Regions from separate parts of the Homo sapiens genome. Here region 2 is linked to region 1. Evidence: promoter capture Hi-C in human tissues and cell types (Jung and others, 2019). All regions are on one chromosome and are shown on one strand. The core of a region is centred on a gene start or on the middle of the fragment in contact, and the rest is flanking DNA. Distances in the headings are between cores, read along the strand shown. Region 1 holds the start of CLCN7 (chloride voltage-gated channel 7). Region 2 overlaps IFT140 (intraflagellar transport 140).

The links. The method cuts DNA at HindIII sites, captures the fragments that hold promoters and counts their contacts. A contact is called where the count stands out against the background at its distance.
Region 2: a fragment that was not itself captured here is called in contact with the fragment with the promoter of CLCN7 in region 1 in 1 of the 25 tissues and cell types used here (pancreas).

Annotation. Positions count from the first base shown.
Region 1 is chr16:1,473,592-1,476,291 of GRCh38, reverse strand. CLCN7 (chloride voltage-gated channel 7) reads left to right here and starts at 1,264. Exons shown (of 25, transcript NM_001287.6): 1 at 1,264-1,458. The coding sequence starts at 1,318. RefSeq lists silencers at 842-1,191, 1,312-1,521 and an enhancer at 761-1,304. The HindIII fragment of the contact is 17,994 bases long and covers 1-2,700 here.
Region 2 is chr16:1,517,680-1,520,379 of GRCh38, reverse strand. It overlaps IFT140 (intraflagellar transport 140), which reads left to right. Exons shown (of 31, transcript NM_014714.4): 28 at 37-249; 29 at 333-499; 30 at 2,023-2,164. Among named protein-coding and RNA genes, the nearest start is that of TMEM204, 15 kb to the left of the region's middle. The HindIII fragment of the contact is 6,941 bases long and covers 1-2,700 here.

The DNA.
Region 1 (2,700 bases), core at 15-2,514:
GTGAAACCCCATCTGTACTAAAAATACAAAAAATTAGCCGGCCATGGTGACGGGCGCCTGTAGTCCCGGCTACTCGGGAGGCTGAGGCATGAACCCGGGAGGCAGTGAGCCGAGATTGGGCCACTGCACTCCAACCTGGGCGACAGAGTGAGACTCCGTCTCAATAATAAAAATATCGACCTTTTAAAAGGAAGAGGATGAGGCACAAAATATAAAGAGTTTACTCTAGAGGCTAACGTGGAAGGATCACTTGAGGTCAGAAGTTTGAGAACAGCCTGGGCAACACACTGTGAGCTCCACAGCAAAAATTAGCCGGGTGTGGTGGTGCAGGCCTGTGGTCCCTGTTACTCCAGAGGCTGAGGCGGGAGGATGGCTTGAGTCCAGGAGGTCAAGGCTGCACTGAGCTGTGACCGCACCACCGCACTCCAGCCTGGGCGACAGAAGGAGACCCTGTCTCAAAATAAATAAATAAATGACCCAGAAGGTGGGGACAGGGTGGGGGCTGATGTAAAGCTGTCAAGAATTCTCTTTGGTTTATGGAAATACCATTGATTAGTGATGGGCTGTGCCCTGGTGCGGGTACAGGGTCCGGGCGGCTATTTGGCTAATTCACAGCTATCTGCGTAGTAGCCGGCAGTTTCCAGAGGCGACCCTCCTGTACTGTCTCTGGGGCCTGATCGTTGAAGAGGACTCGCCTTCTGTTCTTTTCTCATTAGGCGGGAGGACCCTCTGGGGCTGCCTGGAGGAAGCCTCCACTCCGACCCTCGCCCGAGTGCCTACTGCGAGGGCGGATGCATGCTTCGGGACTTCTAATTTCATCCTTCACGTCTTTAGCCGCCGCCTATGGCAAGGAAAGGCCTGCCCTCGCCCCTGCCTCCCTCCTCCCTTCCCCACCGCGGCTCCGTCACGATCGGCGCGGGCGACCGGGCCTGGGGGAGCCCCTCCAGCCGGCTCCTGCCCTCAGGCCCCGGGCGCTTCCCTCGCCCCGACTCCCGGGCCCGAGGTCCCGGGGGCGGCCATTCGCCTCCCAAGCACTCGGCGCTCAGCCCAACGGGGCCGCCTTTGCAGTCGCGTGGGCAGAACGGGGTCCTCAGGGCCGCGGCGATTCTCTAGGGCGGGCGGCGCCACGACCCGCCGGGAGCGCGGCTCCCAGGAGCCCCCGCGCGACCGGGCCTCGGTGGTTGCCGTTGCAGGTCACATGGTCGCCGTCGCTCATCACGTGGCCCCGTCGCGCGTCACGTGGCCGCCGGCGCGGGTCACGAGAACAAACACGGGGGCAGCCGGCGCTTCCCGGCCGGTGTCGCTCCGCGGCGGGCCATGGCCAACGTCTCTAAGAAGGTGTCCTGGTCCGGCCGGGACCGGGACGACGAGGAGGCGGCGCCGCTGCTGCGGAGGACGGCGCGGCCCGGCGGGGGGACGCCGCTGCTGAACGGGGCTGGGCCTGGGGCTGCGCGCCAGGTGAGGCCGGGCAGGGCGCAGGCGGGGAAACTGAGCCCTCGTGCGCCCCGCAGCCCGCGCCCTCGTGAGCCTTCTGGCGGCGCCGCGTGTCTCGGTCCTGGAGGCGACCGAGGCGCGGTGGACTCGGGAACGCGCCCCGGGGCTCCTCGGCGGGGCCGGGCTGGCGGGGGCGCCTGGGGTCTGGAGTCTTCGGAGGCCGCGCCGGGCTCGGTGGCCGGGAGGGCTGCGTGGGCGAGGCGGAGCTCGCCAGACCCCGCGGAATGTGGGGCGCTGAGGGGCGCCGGGGCAGCCGTGGCGCACGTTCATTCCCTCCGGTGTCCCCCAGACTGGCCCTAAAGGGGTGCAAGTGGCTTTCTGTTCAGGTGACTTTTAAAAATTGTCATCCTACACGAGCAACTAATTTTGTTTGCGTTTTTGACCCCCTGGGAGATGGAAACAGTTAAGATTGCAGCCGGGTCACTGTCTTTCAGTGAGAATGACTGAGCGCCTTTATCTGCCATCTTTCTGTGTGGGGATCAGTCCCGACTTTCAGGTGATCTTGGGAGTGACGAGTATTTGTACTCAGTCTCCCTTCGCACCGAGTTGAATTTGCAATGTGCAGGCAAACACAATAAGCAGCAAGTCAGAGGTTGGAATGCGTTCCGCATGTCACCCTGCAGCGTGCGTCTGAGCAGTGTTAAGGTCTGGAGAACCGTTGCGGGTACATTTGTTTCCCTGTCTGTGTATTGTCTTAATATTTTTTTTTTTTTGAGACGGAGTTTCACTGTAGTTGCCCAGGCTGGAGTGCAATGGCGCGATCTCGGCTCACTGCAACCCCCACCTCCCGAGTTTAAGTGACTCTCCTGCCTCAGCCTCCTGAGTAGCTGGAATTACAGGCGTGCGCCACCGCGCCCGGCTAATTTTGTATTTTTAGTAGAGACGGGGTTCCTCCGTGTTGGTCAGGCTGGCCTCGAACTCCCGACCTCACGTGATCCCCCGCACCTCAGCCTCCCAAAGTGCTGGGATTACAGGCGTGAGCCACTGCGCCTGGCCGTATTGTGTTACTTTTGAGTTAATGGACCGTTTTGTTGATGGGTCTTAATCTGCTTTGCAGTTATTCTTTACATTTTCTCTTGTCTAGTCCTTTAAACACTTGTCTTGTGCTTAAAGATTAGGAAGGACGGCAGGGCACGGTGGCTCACATCTGTAATCCCAGCACTTTGGGAGGCCGAGGCGGGTGGATCATGAGGTCAGGAGATTGAG
Region 2 (2,700 bases), core at 1-2,500, 44 kb before region 1:
CCCTGCTTGCCTGAGCCCCGCTGTCTCTCTGCCTAGGCCATGAGGGCGCTGCTCAAATCCGGAGACACGGAGAAAATCACGTTCTTCGCGAGCGTGTCCAGGCAGAAGGAAATCTACATCATGGCTGCTAACTACCTGCAGTCCCTGGACTGGCGGAAGGAGCCGGAGATCATGAAGAACATCATCGGCTTCTACACCAAGGGGCGGGCCCTGGACCTCCTGGCTGGCTTTTATGACGCTTGTGCCCAGGTGCAGGCCCTCCCTGGCATGCCAGCGGGGCCCCGGGGAGGGCTGTGGAGCCCGGCAGGTCTTGACGGGTTTCATCTGTACAGGTGGAGATTGATGAATACCAGAACTACGACAAAGCCCACGGGGCGCTGACCGAGGCCTACAAGTGCCTGGCCAAGGCCAAGGCCAAGAGCCCCCTGGACCAGGAGACCAGGCTGGCGCAGCTGCAGAGCAGGATGGCACTGGTGAAGAGGTTCATCCAGGCCCGCAGGTGTGCCCCCGGGGCCAGCGGGGACAGGCCAGGGCAGATGTGACTACAGGGCCGGGGCTGACCACGAGAAACCCCAGCCAGCAAAAGGGCAGGACAGCAGATGGGAGCTCACTTGGGACAGCACTACTGCTGAAGACACACCCCACCTCCTCCTGGGAGCCCTCAGAGCCCGGGCACAGCCTTGGGAAGGTGTTCTGGAAACACCAGAGACGCTGAGAGAGAAACCTGGTGGGGGAGTGGGAGGAGGAGGCAGATGTGGAGCAGGAGAGGGTGTGTCTGGGGAGCCACAGACCTGCTGAGGGTGTGCAGGGGCCGGGCAGGGGAGTCCTGAGTGAGTGCCGCTGTGTGACCTGGGGTTGGGGGACCATGGTGACCAGAGGGCTCATGCCTCTCCACAGGTCAACTGCCACCAGCTCCAAGCTTGTGGAGAGGAGACCCAGGCAGCCAGCCGATGGTCTCGGTTTTCAGGAGAGGCCAAGATGCTAAGTTTATTTGAACACCTCCCCATCTTTATTATGGGCAGGTGACTCAGCTTTTCAGAGAGCTGCTGTGTGGCCACCACGGTGGGCACTCGCCTGTGCGCTTCAGGGCCCAGCTTCTGTCTCAGCTGGCAGGGCTGTTTTCCTTATCGGAGAACCTTTTCCAAAACAAGAGTTCCAGAAGTCCTTTGAACAAGGTCGTACAAAGCGGTGCCCCTTGGAAGGGCACGGTCCACCTGCACGTGTCGATTCTGGGGTATCAGCGTCTCACAGATGTCTGCTGAGCTGAGGCCACAGGGCAGGAGCGGAGGAGAATCGATAGCAGCTGGTCATCAGGGATAGCACAGGACGTGGGTGGAGGGGAGACGACGTGTGAGGGCCAGGGTGGGCAACCTTCTATGGGCCAGGGGTCAGAGGGCAGGCCAGGCGCCTGTCTGGAATGGCCGAGTCAGTGGGTGGCCAGATGGGCCCTGGACCCTCCTGACATGGGAGCCTGAGCTCCACACGGCTCCAGTCACCTGCCCTGGACCATGTTGTGTTCCAGCAGGCTCACCTCCCTGGTGTCACCCCAGCTCACAGGCCACACACCCTGCTCTGCCACAGACCCTCACGCCAGGTCACACACGCAGCCTGTGTGCGGGCAGCCTCTCTGCTTGGAGGGTTCTTCCCAGCGGCCTTGGGCAAGGGGTGCCGTGCGCCTCTCCGTGTACCCTGTCCACATGCACCACATCCCCTCTGGGTCACGCTTTGTGCAGAGGTTTCTAGCCCCCTCTGGACTGTTCCATAGAGCAGGAACTAGGGGTCGGAAGTCTTTGGTCTTCAGTCCAAGCATAGGACCCAGCATTCAAGTGATCAGTAAGAATGTTACATGGATGAGTTAATTTATGAATGAACAAATTAAGGAATTAATGAATTTAACTTCATAGAAAGTTTCCTCCTGCCATTCCGGAGAGCTCCTCTTACAGGCCAAGAGTCTCCTCTGACCTCTGATAGCAGTAGGTGTTCAGGGCTTCGGGGCCCAGGCCTCATCTCTGCTCTCGGCAGGACGTACACAGAGGACCCCAAGGAGTCCATCAAGCAGTGTGAGCTGCTCCTGGAGGAACCAGACCTGGACAGCACCATCCGCATCGGGGACGTCTATGGCTTCCTGGTGGAGCACTACGTGCGGAAGGAGGAATACCAGACGGTGAGGCCTGAGTGCTGCTCACTAGCAGCATCCCGCCACACAAGGCTCCTGAAACGAAGGCTTAACGGCTCAAACTGAGGCTGTGTGTGGCGGCTCACTCCTGTAATCCCAGCACTTTGGGAGGCTGAGGCAGGAGAATGACTTGAGCCCAGGAGTTCAAGAGCAGCCTGGGCGACATGGTGAAACCCCATCTCTACAAAAAGGGGAAAAATTAGCCAGGCATGGTGGCTCACACCTGGGGTCCCAGCTGCTTGGGAGGCTGAGGTGGGAGGATCCCTTGAGCCCAGGAGGTTGAGGCTGCAGTGAGATCTGATGGCGCCACTGCACTCCAGCCTGGGTGACAGAGCGAGACCCTGTCTCAAAAGAAAAAAAAAATCTGTCGGTAGCAAAAAGTAACAGTCTCACGCTGTTACTGGCTGTTACTAGCAGTGTCGCAGGAAAGCGACAGACTTACTTTATTTGTGAAGAAATGTCTGCATGTACCCGAGTCTGAATAACCACGATTTCTTTTTCAGGGATTTTCACAAAAAAAGAAA